6 separate regions of the Homo sapiens genome follow, and all the other regions are linked to region 1. Evidence: promoter capture Hi-C in 16 types of primary human blood cells and fetal thymus (Javierre and others, 2016). All regions are on one chromosome and are shown on one strand. Each heading gives the region's core, a stretch centred on a gene start or on the middle of the fragment in contact. The rest is flanking DNA. Distances are from core to core; before and after follow the strand shown.

Evidence for each region. The method cuts DNA at HindIII sites, captures the fragments that hold promoters and counts their contacts. A CHiCAGO score of 5 or more calls a contact.
Region 2: a fragment that was not itself captured here is called in contact with the fragment with the promoter of GAB1 in region 1 in 3 of 17 cell types (neutrophils, naive B cells and total B cells); the score reaches 10.1 in neutrophils.
Region 3: a fragment that was not itself captured here is called in contact with the fragment with the promoter of GAB1 in region 1 in 3 of 17 cell types (neutrophils, monocytes and megakaryocytes); the score reaches 9.7 in neutrophils.
Region 4: a fragment that was not itself captured here is called in contact with the fragment with the promoter of GAB1 in region 1 in 1 of 17 cell types (neutrophils); the score reaches 5.8 in neutrophils.
Region 5: a fragment that was not itself captured here is called in contact with the fragment with the promoter of GAB1 in region 1 in 1 of 17 cell types (neutrophils); the score reaches 7.9 in neutrophils.
Region 6: a contact is called between a fragment that was not itself captured here and the fragment with the promoter of GAB1 in region 1, in 1 of 17 cell types (neutrophils). The highest score is 8.2, in neutrophils.

What each region holds. Positions count from the first base shown.
Region 1 is chr4:143,335,199-143,338,223 of GRCh38, reverse strand. GAB1 (GRB2 associated binding protein 1) reads right to left here and starts at 1,348. Exons shown (of 10, transcript NM_002039.4): 1 at 964-1,348. The coding sequence starts at 1,035. It also overlaps the pseudogene LOC124900789. RefSeq lists enhancers at 609-1,422, 2,332-2,541 and silencers at 1,452-1,501, 1,572-1,631, 1,732-2,031, 1,972-2,139. The HindIII fragment of the contact is 8,165 bases long and covers 1-3,025 here.
Region 2 is chr4:143,407,077-143,409,908 of GRCh38, reverse strand. All of the region lies in intron 1 of GAB1 (GRB2 associated binding protein 1), which reads right to left. Among named protein-coding and RNA genes, the nearest start is that of MIR3139, 65 kb to the right of the region's middle. The HindIII fragment of the contact is 1,627 bases long and covers 752-2,378 here.
Region 3 is chr4:143,225,091-143,227,790 of GRCh38, reverse strand. No RefSeq gene overlaps it. Among named protein-coding and RNA genes, the nearest start is that of USP38, 42 kb to the right of the region's middle. The HindIII fragment of the contact is 2,906 bases long and covers 1-2,700 here.
Region 4 is chr4:143,260,098-143,262,797 of GRCh38, reverse strand. No RefSeq gene overlaps it. Among named protein-coding and RNA genes, the nearest start is that of GAB1, 75 kb to the left of the region's middle. The HindIII fragment of the contact is 1,164 bases long and covers 771-1,934 here.
Region 5 is chr4:143,241,740-143,244,439 of GRCh38, reverse strand. No RefSeq gene overlaps it. Among named protein-coding and RNA genes, the nearest start is that of USP38, 58 kb to the right of the region's middle. The HindIII fragment of the contact is 2,745 bases long and covers 1-2,700 here.
Region 6 is chr4:143,455,329-143,458,269 of GRCh38, reverse strand. All of the region lies in intron 6 of GAB1 (GRB2 associated binding protein 1), which reads right to left. Among named protein-coding and RNA genes, the nearest start is that of SMARCA5, 57 kb to the left of the region's middle. The HindIII fragment of the contact is 7,383 bases long and covers 1-2,941 here.

The DNA of each region.
Region 1 (3,025 bases), core at 99-2,598:
AGCAGCAACAAAACAACCAATGGGGAGGAAGAATAAGATCCCAGACCTCTGAAGAGGACACAGGTTTCCACTAAAGCAAGGTTGATACTTTCAAGGAATATTTTTCCTAACAGCTAAAACGGTTTAACACATAGCATCTTGTATCAATTACACAAACACCATTAAAGCCACTCTGGTTCCCTGGGAAAGGACCGCAACTGAAATCCCTTCTGGCTTCAGCTGTCCCCTCCTGCCGAGTTTGACAGCACATCCAAGGCGCCCAAACACCAGCCACTAGGCTCCCCCCCAGCGCCCTCCTCTCGCAGCAAACCGCCAAGGCTCCCGGGCCAAACTCCAAAGTCCCTCAATTCAAAACCGCGAAAATGTGAACCCTGCTAAGCAAACGGCAGGGCGCGTAATAACTTTTCTTTCTTTCCCTTTTGCGCGCGTTCGATATGCTTGTCTCTACTACCAACTCCTCAGCTCCACAGCCCGCTTCCCGCAACCCATCTCGAGGGGCGGAGGAGAGGGAGCGCCCACCAAAGAAAGGGCTAGTGAGCCCTAAAACCTCGGCAGTTTTCCCGGTGCGGGAGCTTTAGCACACATCAGCCCAATAATCAGATGCAGGAATAAAGCAGGAAGAAGGCTCCTCTCTCCATCGCACCCCATCCTTCCTAAGGAAGAAAAAAAGCATGCAGCAGGAGTTTAGCTGGACGTCTAGGTCCTTTTATGGGGCGAACAGGCCCGCAAAGCAGGCTGTCTGGAACCTGGAGGAAGAAAGTTGTCCGGCCAAGTGGATGCCTGGGCGTGAGGGAGTGCAAGGCACCCTGTCCCGAGCCCGCCAGGGGTAGGGGCCAAGGGGAAAGAGACCGGCATTCGTTTAAGAACCAGCCCCGCGCGCGGCCAGCTGCAGCCGCCGGCGAGCCGACTGGGGAGGGGTGTGGACGCCGAGGCCCGCGGAGTGGTGCCCGCAGCTCTACTTACATAACGCTTCAACTTTTTCTCCGGGGGGGACTTGCGGAGCCATCCGGAGCAGACCACTTCACCACCGCTCATGGTGCGCGCGTCTCGGGCTCCGGGCCGGGCAGCTGAGGGGCGGCGGGCGCGCTCCCGACACAGCCGACGCCTGCCGAGCGCGCAGTGGCGAGAACCTAGCTCTCCTGGTCGCGCACCCCGGACGGACTGGGCGGACAGACTCCACGGTGCGCGGGTTCCACGAGTTCGAGTCTCTCCTCTGCAGGCCCACGAACCTGAACAGAACGCGAGCCGGGGCCGCGGGCGCGCCGGCCTCCTTTCAGTGCGCCCGCCTCGCCTCCAGACGTGCCGTCTCGCCAGCTGCCTCAGCAGCGCTCGGACTCAGCGGGACTCTGCCCCGACTCGGTGCCGGAGCTTCTGTCCTTTGCGCTCCGCCCCCTAGGGACAAGACCTCCCCAGAGCGCTTTCCGAAACAGACACAGCGCTGCTCACACACACACACACACACACACACACACACAATGCCCCGCGCGGTGCCCGCTCGCCCGCCCACCCGCCCTCGGTTTCGATGCGCCCGGAGCGATCCTCCTTCCCTCTCCTCGGGGGAGGGTGGGTCACTTCGCGGCGCTCGGTGAACGCCGAGGAAAGGGGAAGCCGCGAGCCGCCTACGGGCAGCGGGCGCGGGGCTGGTCCCGGGTCACAGAGGGAGCCGCAGGGTTGGCAGCGAAGCGCGGGGCGTTTCTGAGCGGCGGGCGCAGGGAGGTCGCAGGTCAAGCCGGAGGGTGGGTCCGCTCTCGCGGCCGCCGAAGAGGGCGGGGAGCAGCAGAGGAACGAGGCGCTTGGCGGCTTGGCTCCTGGGAGGGATCCCGCTGTCCCGTCCCCTCGCGCTCCTCCCCCGCCGCCTCCCCCACCCCGGGGCTCGCGGCAGGTCCTGAGCGGCTCGGCCCCAGATCCCGATCCCTCCCTCCCTCTCCCGGCCGCCGGGCTCCTTCTTCCTCCCTCTCCTCCTCCCCTTCCCACGTTCAGGCCCGGCTCCGGTTTCTGCCCAGACTTTCTCTGAAACTCCGCCGGAGTGCTTCCAGCCAAAACAACAAGGGCCGGGGGAGGAGACGGACGAAGGGAGGGAGCAAGGGAGGGAGGGAGCGCGAGTCCGAGAGGCACCCTGGGATCTGTAGTTCGGGAAGCAGGAGCAGGGTCCTCCGCCGTCCGGCGGCCCCCAATCGGCTCCTCGCCCGGGAAGACCGCAGAGGCCTCGGCTAGGGCAGAGGCACCGGGGCTTGGGCGCGGGGAAGACTGAGGGACATTCGAATGTTCAGTCCGGGGCTTGCCATCTTGACTCAGCCCGGTGCCAGCTCGGAGCTTGTGCTGTGCTCGAGATCAGGAGTTTCGAGGGTTTTCTTTACTTGAGAGCCTGAAAGGCAAAACCGCGGGGAGACCACCATCCTGCCGGTCCCCGCCGCGCGAGATTAAAGGACAGACCAAGAGGGCGCGGGAGCTACCAGCTTGGAGGGGAGGACAGATGGGGACCCAGGGCTGGCCAGGGCTGGTCTCTGGAGCTGTTCTGCCAGAGTGATGGGGGCGCTTGGCGAGGCCAAGGATTTGGTTGGGTCCTATCTCTGAGACATTTTGAAGTCTCACACCCCTTCCATTTGTTGCCTATTCCACTTAACTTTGTATTTGTTTGAAATCTACTGTTCGGATGCTGGACTAGAAGAGGGACACTTGGCCGGGCGCGGTGGCTCACGCCTGTAATCCCAGCACTTTGGGAGGCCGAGGCGGGCGGATCAACTGAGGTCGGGAGTTCAAGACCAGCCTGACCAACATGGAGAAACCCAATCTCTACTAAAAATACAAAAATTAGCCGGGCGTAGTGGCGCGCGCCTATAATCCCAGCTACTCGGGAGGCTGAGACAGGAAAATAGCTTGAACCCGGGAGGCGGAGATTGCGGTGAGCCGAGATCGCGACACTGCGCTCCAGCCTGGGCAACAAGAGCAAAACTCCGTCAAAAAAAAAAAAAAAAAAAAAGAGAGAGAGAGAGAAAGAAGGAAGGAAGGAAATTTACTGGGTACC
Region 2 (2,832 bases), core at 316-2,815, 71 kb before region 1:
ATTGCTCTTTAAAGTAAAATTTCAAAAACAAAACAAAACAAAACAAACACAGGTCCTTTCAAGCTTACGTCTCATTCTTCATCTTCTTATATTAATATCTTCTGCTCATGCCAATGCTGTCTCTATCTTCCTATTTTTGTTCACAATATTTACCACTAGCAAATATCTTTCAAACCCAATTCATTCTTCAAGGTTCTTTTTTCCCAACCTTCCCCTTTCCTCCCCACACCCTACCTTCCTACCACTGACAATCAATTACTGCTCTGTAATATCTCTTGCATTGCTGTAGAATAGATTGGAACAGTCTATTATTTTACATTTCCAAACTCTCCAAATACTTATGAATTATTTTCCCAACTGGACATTAAGCTCCTTGAAAGCTAATTCCTTTTTTTTTTTCTATCTGCAACAGCACTTCATGCATTGTAAGTGCTCAAAGCCTTGGTGAGATGTTGTCCATCAGAATAATCATCACAGACAGCCACTGAGACTAAATGAAAAGATTTCAGAGCGGGGGGGGGGAAAGTTCAAAGTTGTTATTGAAGTCCAAACTCCTTCAGTAAGATAGCATACAAGGTTCTTCAAAACCATACTTACCTGTCTCATCTCTCCAATCTCTCACCTCCACAGATGGCCTCAGACAGCACCCACATGGTCCTTGTTTCTTTTTCAGTCTGAAATACCTTATTTCCCTCACCATGAGCTCCTACTCATCCTTCAAGACCTAGCTCAAGACCTGTTCTTTAAAGCTTTCCTCAACTTCCCCTGAGATAAGGCATCAGCTCCTGTTCCTTTGAGCTCTCAGCAACATCACGCAAGTAGTCCATTAACAAGCCCATTCCCTTAAGCACTTGAAAAAGAACTCTGCTGACTGCATCTTGGGGTCTCTTGGTAGTTGTTAAGCCCTAACAAAGTATACCTTGTCCAGATAGCTGAAGAGCAATACTTTCTACATTCCTGAGCCAACTTCCCTTCTACCAGGAAGCTCCACCACTGTAATTTTACTAACCCGCTCTTTTCCTGAGAAAGTGTGGGGAAAAAAGTAGAGCGGAATTTTTTATTTTGAAATCTCTTAAAAGGTATTTCACAACTGATATTTAAGGAAAGACCATTATTGTGACTTCTTTAGTAGAATTCAAAATTTCAATATACTCTCAGAAATCTGTAAAATGTCGGGGTTGAAGATGTGCGTTTCACAAAATGAAAATGCTATTTTTGATAAGATAGGTTGTAATCTAAATTTTATCAGCAGGATAATGGTCAAATAAATTATGGGACATCTACACAATAAAGCTAGGCAATTCATTCAAAAAGTGACATGGATATATATACATGAGCAATGCCCACAAGATAACTGTTAAGTAAAAAAAACAAGGTGCGGAATTGTACACATGGTATATACTTCCATTTGTGTGAAATAACTGTGTGTTTGTACAAACACAGCACAAACTGTGTGTTTATACAAACACACACTATGTTTAGAGAACAGGTCTGGAAGGACACATACTAAGTTGTTAACTCTGATAACTAAGAATAGGTCAGATGAAAGGGCCAGATGAGTCTCATATTTTACATACTTTGTTTTTTCAAAATGTTTCCATTTATTGCTTTTATAATTTTAAAAAATTGTATGTTTAAAATAACCTAGGAATGATGTGCACAAAACAAAAAGTTTATGTGTATATGGAAATGCTATTTTATTATTACTCTGCAATTAGTGAATGGATATTTAACCTTTCTTTTAAATATAGAATTCCGGGATACATGTGGAAGGAGTCTCAGCCAGGAAACAGCCTAGACAGATAAAGAGTCACGACTTTATTTTAAAGACTGGCACTTAGGGGGTTAAACAAACAAACAAGAAAAGTTGGGAACACTTAAAATAGAGGAATAAATTTATTTTTCTTTCCTTAAAGTCATTATAATATATTGCTTTAATTTTCTCTAAAAACCATGCAGTAAATGGTAATACATTGAAATATTTAAAAATCTAAAATAAGCACTTTAGGAATTACTTTGCCTATTAAAAATATTTCCATAATACTATTACTAGGGTAAATAAAATAAAGAAAAACAAATTAACCATGAAGCAGGGACAAAGGAAAACCATTTGCTTTAAAATACTTGAGTTGTTTTCCAGGAAGCACCATCTTTTCTCATAGAGCAAAATAAGGAAAAAACAGGCTCGGTGGAAGTTTCCACTCCACTGGCTCTATCATTATGATCATCTGTTCCAAACACACAGAAGCCTAAAATTTCCTGTTTTCAAACTGTTGTCACCATTTTCTAGCCTTGTGCTATCCGAGCTAACTTTAGCTTAGTAATATAAACAAAAGAATACACTGAAAATAATGCAGAACAATGCCTAGATCTAAGCTTTCAACTGTTCCATAAACTTAAGATATTAGAGTTTACGTACATTGCCTGGATACAACAAATTAGTTGGAAATAAAACAATTTCATAAGAGGAAAAAAATCAAATTTGACTCAGAAATACTATACTAGCTAGGGAAAGAGTTCAGGAATTTTGAATTCTCAGTAATAGTGCATATAATTTACTTGTTGAAATTACTGCTAAATTAATGCCTACCTCAAAGCCTAGGCATAAGCACTACATAAAATAAACAAAAAGCCAAAAAAAAAAAGCAATGACAAAAACCCCTTAGTATTTAATATACATAGGTGGTTCTTAAACCTTTTCTGGGTCATAGACGGCTTTGAGCATCTGATTAAAGCAATGAAAACTTTTCTTAGAAAAAAGGTATATAGGTAATATTGTATAGTTTCAAGGTTTCACAGGACCCCTGTTAACACGTTAAGAACCCTGAAAAT
Region 3 (2,700 bases), core at 19-2,518, 110 kb after region 1:
GTGCGGTAAGGGTTTTCTTTTATCTTACATGATTACCCACTGTACCACTAAAATTTATGGAAAAGACCATCCTTTTCACACTGAAGTGTCACCTTTGTCTAGGGGCCAAGTCATTGCAGTTTGCCTGGGACTTTCTTGGTTTTAGCTGAAATTTCTATGTCTTGGGAACAGCCTCAGTCTCAAACAACTAGGATGGTCACATTATTTTTGTCATAAATCACATATGCATGTAAGTATGGGCGTATTTCTGATAAGTCCCCTTATCTTAATTATTTTAGCTTTATAAGTTTTATCTTGTAAAGAAAGTCATTCTACCTTGTTCCTCATTTCCAAGAGTCTTGACAATTTTTGGACTTTTTCCCTTTACATTTCCGAATCAGCTCAATACAAAATAGAATTCCCAGATTGGGATTGCATTGATTCTACAGACTGGGAAAAGTTGGCTATTTATTTTGAGGACAAATTAGGTATTTATAATATTGAGTCTTCCAAGCCATAATTTATCTAGGTCTTCTTTAACTTCCTAAATAATGTTTTATGGTATTGTGTGGCAGTCTTATGCATCTTTTATTTCTAAAAAGCTGTTTCTAGATTTCTAAAAAATTGATTTTTTACATTATTGTCAATATTTTAAAATTTCATATTCTAATACCTGTCACTGGTGTATAAATATACCCTTGAACTTTGTATATTAACTTTGTATTTAGGAGACTTGCTAAACTCAATTCTAGAAGTTTATGTGTAAGTTAAAGATTCTTACTTTGGATTCTACATAAACAGGTGGCTGGGTCACAGGCTGTAGTTTGCCCATCTCTGTGTTAGTCCATGTTTATACTTCTTTTCCTGGGAGTCTTTGTCTGTACAGTGTGTGTTTGATGCACAGTGGATGCAGCAGGAGGTCCAAATTGCTGCTCATGGGCAGTGTGTCTTGAGCTTCCCAAAACTGTCCCTGCTTTCTTGTTCTGGAAATTGAGTCAATGGTGCCAAATCCATTTCCAAATCTTCCTTCCTTTTTGTAGATCCAAATCTCCACCTGGTATGCTCTCTTCAGCCTGAAGAATTTTAACCTATCTTTTAGTGCAAATATTCAAGAAAAAAATTCTCTCAGCTTTTGTCTAAAAATATCTATTTCCCCTTCATGTTGAATGAATCTTCACTGGATATAGTGAGTATTCACTAGGTTGACTTTTTTTCCCTTCTGCACTTTTTAGATGCCATTCCACCATCCTCTAGCTTTCATATTCTGATAAAATGACTGGTCTTTTGTTTCTCTATATCAAGGATCAGAATTTTTAAATGTACCACAGTAAATATTTTAGGCTCTGCAGGCTGTATGGTGATATGGTTACACCATAATCAATCTCATCTTGGATTGTAATTTCCAGGTGTTGAGGAAGGAACCTGATGGGAGGTGATTGGATCATGGGGATGATTTCCCTCATACTGTTCTCAGGATAGTGAGTTCTTACAAGATCTGATGGTTTTATAAGGCAGTTTTCCCTGCTCTCTCTTGCCTGCCACCTTGTAATACAAGCCTGCTTCCCCTTCTGCCATGACTGTGTTTCCTGAGGCATCCCAAGCGATGCAGAACTGTGAGTCAATTAATCCTCTTCTTTATAAATTACCCAGTCTCAGGCAGTTCTTTATAGCAGCATGAAAACAGACTAATATATATGGTCTCCGTCATAACTACTCAGCTCTACCATTGTAGTGTAAAAACAGCCATACACAATAGGTTACAGGTATAGCAGTGCTCCAATAAAACTTTACTTACGAAAAAGCAGGACGCAGGATAGACTTGGTCTGTGGGCTCTGTATTGTTTGCTGACCTCATATTCTTTTCCTCTGGGTGCTTTTAATTTTCTCTTGGATAACTGACTCTCAGATCTTCCATTTTTCTCTTCACTGTGCTCATGATTTTCTACATTCCTCTTAAGCTCCTACTTTGCAAATTCCTTTCTTTCCATAATTTCTGGATTTTTCTCCTTCTTTGAATGCCTCAGACTTTTTGATCAGATGCTGGATACTGTGAATTTTACTTTCTTAAATGCTGGGTATGTATACTGCATTTCCTTAAAAAGGTTGCCATTTGTTCTGTATGCAGTTAAATTACTTAAAGAATTTAACCAGCATTAGAATTTGATCCTTTTAAGACCTACTTTTAATCTTTGTTGGGTGTAAACTTTATACTGTAAAGGATTAGCCTTTACTCCAGTGTTAATTTAGCCCCATTGCTAAGCCATGGCCTTCTCAAAGAGAAGCACAATACACACCTCAGGATAAAGGCGGAGACTAATCAGCTTGGGAAGTCAGTATGAGAAGATATGAACATACTGAAGAGTAGGAGGTCATTAGTCCGCTGAAAGCTGGGAAGAGAAAGTAGCGTAAGGGGAATGGTATGCTATCCTGAGACCTGAATGTGCAAAGGTCTCGAGATGGCAAGTATATGGTGCTGTGTGAAAAAAAATGATGCAAGGTCCAATATGCATGACAGAGGGCATAAAGGCAAGAATGGAAGAGATAAGCCTAGTAAAGCAAACAGAAACTACGCGGGTAAAACAAATGAGTTTAAGAACCACATTTCTCAACCCTTTAGATTATCACATATAGGTTTTAACAAAGTAGATCTTTTTTTTTTTTTTCTTAAGGAATCATGTTTGGAGTGCAAAAGGATAAAGGAAACACACTGATATTTCATTT
Region 4 (2,700 bases), core at 103-2,602, 75 kb after region 1:
AATACTGCCTTTGAGGCACTCAGTGCAGGCATGCCACTGACACAAACCCTCACTGAACACATGTTCTCCTATCAAGGATGAAGGGCATGTTGTTGTTGCTTATTTCCTCGTATCTCTTATCCATTCTAGACTATAAGCAAAACACACAAAGAACTGTGCTAATTGTTCTTTTCTTTCTTTTTCTTTTCTTTTCTTTTTTTTTTTTGAGATGGTGTCTTGCTCTGTCGCCCAGGCTGGAGTGCAGTGGCACTATCTCGGCTCACTGCAACCTGCACCTCTCGGGTTCATGCCATTCTCCTGCCTCAGCCCCCCGAGTAGCTGGGACTACAGGTGTGTGCCACCACACCTGGCTAGTTTCTTGTGTTTTTAGTAGAGACGGGGTTTCACCGTGTTAACCAAGATGGTCTTGGCCTCCTGACCTCATGATCAGCCCGCCACGGCCTCCCAAAGTGCTGGGATTACAGGCACGAGCCACCACGCCCAGCCGGAACTGCGCTGATTTTCCTATCCATATCCATCTTCTCTCCAGCCCCTACCACAATACCTGACACACAAAAGGAGACACTGGTGGGGGTGGGAAGGAGTAAAAAATGTGAAAGAACTTGTTGTTTCCCAAATAACTTATAACTTTGATGAGGAAGATTAATGGATAAATAACTATCAATAATGTAAGTCATTCAAATAAATACTAGAAAGAGGGTAAAAATTTTAGCCGTGGTAGTCTCCAACACAGAGAAGTTAATCGCTAATTTATGGGATCAAGGAAAGCTTTACAAAGAAGCAGGTTTTCAGCTGCCTGTGGAATAATGTAGTCTAGTATATGGGAAATTCTTTCTCTAGAGTGCATTCCCCTTTTCTTGACTTCTGTTCTTTTTTCCAAAAAAAAGAAAGTCTTATAAATTCTTCCTGTTACTAAGGGTCTGCTTCCTGTGGAAAGTCCTGAATAGCATTTAATGATTTATAAACAAGAACTTCTGTGTGATAATAATGGATCCAGATCTGGGTGCTTAAGTTGGGAATAAAAATATTAACCAAATTTTCAACACAAATACTTCTCCAAGGCTTTTGGGAGTCTGGTTTGGTTTAAGCAATTTGTTTTTGGCTCATAAGTAATCTCAGATGGTAGCAGCATTTCCAATTAGATCTTAGTCCTGCTGATTATAATTCATTTATGGTGTGAACATTTTTTAAAAAATTAGATTTATAGTGTTATTGAATTCTCCAATGACCAAGAGAAATTACATAGATTTCAGTAATTGGATTTTCTAGCTGAAAGGCTATTAACTCTCTAAAGAAGAGAGAGAGAATATATAACAAATCCATTTAAACTCTGTTATATTTTTGTAATAGGACTGCACAGTATCATAAAATATTTTGTAAAGTATTACCAAGTTTTTTGGGGACCATTTCACTAATCTTTATCAGGAACCTGGTTGCAAAGGTGGGAAAGAGAGTAATCATATTCTTTTTTCCTTAAGTAATTTTTCAGCATAGAAAGTAACTTGCTACTTATCTCACAGCAGACCAGTAGCAGAATCCTCTATCTTATACTGTGTTCTTGTTTGGTGGCTATAAAAAAGGTTTTAAAAATCTTTGCTCCTAATAATCAAGTTTTTATTAGCCACTCTGAAAATGAGAACATGGGGTGGGGGTGAAAGAGTTGAAATGAATGTCTTTAAAAAGGCAAGAGAAGGTGAGGAAGATGAAGTCTACTTGACGGGAACAGAATTTCTTGAGGCAACATGTAAGCCCTTATAGTTGGCCCGCACCACCAAAATAGCCTGCATCAGAAGAGACCATGACCTTAGGGTGTTGGGTGACTAAGAAAGAGCTGTGGCATGGCTGGATACGTGAGGGCTGGTTGAGTGGACTAAACAGTTCCAGGCCTTTCCTCCACCAGACATAGTTTCTGTCCTGTTACTGTCAACAAAGCTTACTAGGGGAAAAACATTTATTGTCTGTACCTTACAATTAGCATTCATCTACTCCTGTGGTGTTGTTACACCAAGAATCTCCTCAAACAGATTGCAGTCTCTTTTGGGGCAAGGACCAAAGCTTACAGATTGTGCCTCCACAGGATTTGGTACAATTCTTTATACAAGTTAGGAAGTTAAATTGTATTAGTACATTCTTGCACTGTTATAAAGAAATATCTGAGGAGGGGTGACTTATAAAGAAAAGAGGTTTAATTGGCTGCAGACTGTACTAGAAGCATGATGCATCTGCTTAGCTTCTGGGGAGACCTCAGGAAACTGGTGGAAGGCGAAGGGGAAGCAGGCACATCTTACATGGCAGGAGCAGGAGAAAAAGAGAGAGATGGGGAGAGGTGCTACACTCTTTTAAATAACCACATCTCACAAGAGCTCACTTAATAACAGCACCCAGAGGGATGGTGTTGAACCATTCATGAGAAACTGCCCTCAAGATCTGATCACCCCTCACCAGGCCCCACCTCCAACATTGGGGATTACAATTGAACATGAGATTTGGGTGGGGACACAGATCAAACTATATTGTCAATAAATATCTTTTGATGATATTTCATTTAGCTTAGATGTCAGGGATGTCCATGGTGTTTATCTCTGGCTCAAGACAATTCCAATTTTTTTGAGGGCCGATGCAGTCCCCTTTCCCAGCTGTGACATCTTAACTTCTTCAGCTTCCCAGGAATTCATATTTACCCTCAAAGAGAATGCTACC
Region 5 (2,700 bases), core at 90-2,589, 94 kb after region 1:
GAGGGTTTACTGGGTGCCTTACCTTTTTGTTGGCTTATTTTTGTTCCTATTCTACCCCACTTTCATTCCCCCTAGAAATTTTGTTTGAACCAAATAAGGAGGGGAGATTATGAAAAGAGTAAAGAAGAAAGGATTAAATGCCAGCCCAATACTATAAGTCAGTTCTCCTAAATTTTATCTTCAAATGCCCATTGTCTCTAATGCAGCAGCCACACCTCATTCCACTCCTATAGAGTTATCTTTATTTTGCCCACAAAGACTTAGGCCTGAGATGACATCTCAGCCACCCTGACTTGTTTTTTGGATTCTCAATACCTTTTTCCTGTAAATAAGTTCTAACAAGAGAGAGAATTTGGGGAGGAACTTCGAGCTCCCCAGACTCCTGCAGGTTACTCCAGCAGTGCTGGTTTGATGCCCATGACTCTTCATTCCCTTTACTCTCCCTACTCCATTGCACTGGAGAAAAATTTCTCTGACTCACAGAACTAAATATCCCTTCTTCTTCCATTTGTCAGGTGATCAAGAACTTGGGATTCATGTTGTGTTTATCTGTGTGGTAGTTACACAGGTCTATACATATGTGAAAATTTATTGAGTTGGATACTTAAGATGAGTGCCCTTTATTCAATTTACTATATGTGTATTACCCATCAATTAAAAAAAAAACTAGCCTTTAATTTTTTGGCAGTTTCTACCTCTGCCCAAAACCAGCACAAGAACAAGTGAGGCCTTTCCACTAACCTTTTATTCTGGCAACACCTTGAAAGCGGGGCTTTCGAACACTCCATAATCTACCAGTGTTTCTTGGTCTTTTAAATATTTATTTTCCCCAAAACTTACTGTTTTCAGCATACAGTTAACTTTTATCTTCCCTAGACATTTCTAACTTTGACTGGAATCCAGAAAATCTAGAATCCAGAAAAAAAGATTGTTACATTTTGCCAAAACAACAACAACAACTTCTGCATGGCAAAAACACCATGAATAAAATAAAAATATGCATGAAAGGTAAACAAAAATGGAGAAAAGTATTCACAACCCAAATCACAGGCAAAGGGTTCTGCCCCTAATATAGAGTTCTAACCCAGAGGAACAACAACCCAATAGAAAAATGGGCAAGGGATATGAACAAACAGTCCCATGAAATATAGAGCCCCAAATACATGAACAGATGCTTATCCTCACTCACAAGAAGAGAAATGAAAGTGGAAACTACACTGAGATATTATTTTTCAAGCTGTCGGACTGAATAAAATTCAAAGGTTACATACCACATGGTGTTAGCAAGGCTGGAGGAAACAGACTCTACCATACATTACTTGGGAAGGTACATTTTCTTGCTTTCATAGGGGGCAGTTTAATAGTACTTATCGCTATTGTTACAAATATATATGCCCTTTGACTCAGAAGTTCCATTCCTAGGAATTTAAGTGCGAATACACTTTAGACAGGCAAAATTATGCTTATTCAAGGTAGCATCATTGTTTGTAATCGTAAAATATTATAAATTACTTAAACGTTTATGATAGTGGTCTGGTTAAATAAATAATAATATACATTTACAATAGAAAACTAGCCAGCTACAAAAAAAAGGAGAAAGTTCTTTTTGTTTTAATATGAAAACCATCTAAGTTTTTGTTGAGTGAAAAAGAAAAGATGAGTAGAATAATGTGCAAGGCTATGGTAATGCTTGTGTAAAGAAGGAGGGTAAAAGAGTATCTGTGTATATATATCTTAACCCATTTATTCCTGAGGTTGCAATTTTTTTGAATTTTTGGAATCAGACCTTGGCAATGACCTTCAGTAGTAGGATGTAAGTAACTCCCACATGCTTAATGTTCCAATAATGGAACACTAGGCATAAATGGGTTTTAATATGTGCACAAAATTACTCTGGAAGTATAACGAAGAAATGAAATAAAGATATTACCCATGGGGGTGTAAGGGAAAGACATTTCATTTAATTTTTTAAAAAATGTTTAAACCTTATGAATGTATTACCTATTCAAAGCAAAACAAACAAAAGCTATCTTGACATTTGTAACCCTCCTTTGTGGCCCATAATGGCTGAAATATGCACAGACTTATGTCAGGTTCTAACTGAAGTCCAAGGGGAGTTGGTAGGTGAGTGGCAGGTAGCTGGAAAAACACTTGAGGAATGGTAGACAATTTTGACAGGGCTTTACTCTCTCTCTGGGCACAAGTGAGCTATATGTACAGTGTTAGCAGGGTAATTATACATTTTACAGACATTAGTGACTGTGAGCCAAGCACAAGCTCACATGGGTGATCACCTAATGCACCTCACATGGCATGGTTACCTAATGTGGGGGGTTGTGTGCCTGCACTCCAAACCCGCTGAGTCATGCTGCACCAGAAAGCAGCCTTGGCCTACTCCTGATTAAAGCACAGCCATTTCCCTTATGACTTAGTTTATCACCAGAAAGAGCTAAGTATTCCTCAGAGCCAATTATTAACACATTCAGCATTTAGAGGTGGATGAAAGGATAGAAAATATCTACTTTTGTTCCTCTTGTGTTGCTTTTCAATCTGAGTGTATGTCCCCATTTATGAGGCTGTAGAAATTGTCCCTTTGTTTCCTTCTTTGCTTTTCTGTTCCTCTGCTTCTATGGTCCTTACCCTATCTCCTGGTACTGGGGTCCTTTTTGATCTACAGCCTCTTAAAAGGAAAAAGCCTCA
Region 6 (2,941 bases), core at 92-2,591, 120 kb before region 1:
TCTTAAAATAGAAACATACAGAATATTCCGCTGAGTGAAAGTATTTCTTTAACTGTTAATGTTTTACTTTTTGACACCCAAAGGCTAATAGCAGTTTAGCTGTCAGTTTTTAAATAATGGCACAATTAATCCATGGAAATGATTCTTTATTCTGTCTCAGAACAGAACACATATACATAAAGACAGAAGACAACAGAAAATCACAAACAGTTCACAAACTGAAAGGATAAAATGTTGTCTACAAAGTTAAAAGAATAATGCAAAAGGACAAGTCTGAATATCACATATTATCAAATATTTAACATGCTGTTGTTAATGGCAGAGTAAGTAGACTCATTGTGTATTATGGGAAGCATTCACTTTAGAAATAATGTGCAGGAAAGTTTTATTTACAACAGCAGTAGTATTTAAGGTTCTTCTTTATTTTTAGAAAAAAAACAAAAAACATTACAAAATAAATTCCCAATGCCCCATACAGCATGCGGTGCTAAAGTACATACCCTTTCTTCTTGTAGCAAAGTCACCTATGGTTTGTGAATCAGTTCGCTCTAAACCATGGGGTTTGAGTCTTAAAATTTTAGGACTTTGACCTAATTGGTAAAAAGAAGACTCTCTTAATATAATGTTATTTATTAATTGGAAAATGGATTCTGTAAAAAAAAAAAAAAAAAAAAGCAACAGAGCCCTGTGCAAAAATGTTACATCTAAAAGCATGAACAAAAGTTTGTTGTGGAGAATATTTCAGTCTTGTTACATAAAATTCATGCTCATGCTCAGCACAATGGAAAAGAGGAATTTACATGCAACAATGTAAGCAGCAAGGAGGTATAAAAGATGGCAGGATTTTAGTGCGATAACCAGCCTGGTTAGTTGTTATCTTCATTTGGGGGAACAGAGGGAAAATATGTGCCATGTTAGTTTTTCTTCTAACATGTCTTAGAAAACTGGATCAAATAAAAAATTTGTAGAATACCCTAGTCAGATCTCAATTACATCTTTCTTTTCTTTGAAATCTGGTGTCTCATATGAAAGCCCGAAGGCCTACGTCCTTGTAATATTACTTTTCTAATTTGGTAGAGATGTTTTTAAAACCTTAATCTATTCCTGCACCTCCTGAACAAGACTCTTCTAGAGAAGCAAGTTGCCACTACTATATTTACTAATCTAAAACCAAAACAAGACCAGCATTTCTTTCCTCTGGATACTCACTGGTTGCCCAATGGCTTCATCTTGCAAGAATTACATGTTTAGATTCTGGTTCTACTGATTGCCTAGCTTCAGTTTAATTAAGTATATTTCTGAAAGCATAAATTCAGTTACCATCATCTTCCTTTCACTTAATGTCTGCCACATAAAAGCACTGCTGAAAAGCCTATGAAAGGGCATCCTTCCCATTAGAAGCCTGGATGCCAGAGCTGCAATATCATTTGAACCAGTGATTTAAGCTACTCCATTATTAGTGGCACTAAATTTTCTTTTTTCTTGGAATTTACAAAGTTGAGTTTACATCTATTAGGTGGCAGAATCAGAATTTGCTGGTTAAGTGCTGATATCTAGCACCTTACCTATCGAAATCTAAGTTTCTTAAAATATAATTCTGTAGAAGTTATAAAAAATAAAATTTCCTAACCAATTTTCTAAGTTACACAATACATTGAGTTTATTCAGAAATGAGGCAGCCTGAGTTTAAAAGGTAAATACTAAAATTTTGGGCAAGATCCACTCCCTACCCCTAAAATTCCCTAATCCAGGGCCCATACCCGCAGGACCCTTTTCTAAAGCAAAGGAAGATGACAACTTTTTTTTTTTTTTTGAGACGGAGTCTCTCTCAGTCGCCCAGGCTAGAGTGCAATGGCACAATCTTGGCTCACCGCAAGCTCTGCCTCCCAGGCTCATGCCATTCTCCTGCCTCAGCCTCCCAAGTAGCTGGGACTACAGGTGCCCGCCACCACGCCTGGCTAATTTTTTGTATTTTTAGTAGAGGTGGGGTTTCACCGTGTTAGCCAGGATGGTCTCGATCTCCTGACCTTGTGATCCACCCGCCTTGGCCTCCCAAAGTGCTGGGATTACAGGCGTAAGCCACCGCGCCCGGCTACGATGACAACTTTTTAAACTCCCCCAAATAGTGTGCTACCCTTCAAAAAAAATAAGAGGCAGAAGGTAAGTCTTAGTATTAAAATAATATGATTATTTTGGAGTGAAAGGCCCTTACAAATCTAGTTTCTTCATTTTATGAATGAGATTCATCCAAAGAAAGAAGGGGTTAAGTGATTTGTTCAGGTTACACTTTAACCGGAGGCAGAGTTGAGACTTCCTCTAGCCTGCCACTTGCTGGTGTGGCACTCCTGTTCTATACCACACTGTCTTACCTTTCCAGACCTTTAGGGATATAGAGAATCTTAGGAAATTTAGCTGGATACTATGTTGGAGCTGCTTGGAGTTCAGTTTTGAACTCTCCATTGCGGCTGGAGATCTTGCAGCACTCTGTGCCACACAGTCACAAACTAAGGAAACCAAGTAGAGAAAGGAAGAAATGTGCTCATTCCTACACTTATGTCTATAGTTGATACTACTCTGAATTTACAGATGTGGCTTGGGGGGACATCTACGTGAATGCCACAGAGAGCTGACACACCAGTGATACCAGGTTTAATTACAAAATGCTCTTAGAACTTCTTTTGGTTTGCTGCTCTTGACCTAGTATGTGAGATGCACTCCTCCTTGTCTGAAAGATCCGTTTTCATTAGCTCTCCAGCTCCCTCCTGATTTTTTTCACCATAGTTATCTCCCAGTGGTCACTCTTTGCATTTCTCAGCTTTGCTACCCCAGTATCTTATCTAAGTTTGTGGTTAAATAATCAAGGTCACATGACTGCTAAATCTTACCGAGTTATGGTTTCTCACTTTTTCTCTAGTTCCACCTTCCAACTGCCTGACAGGTT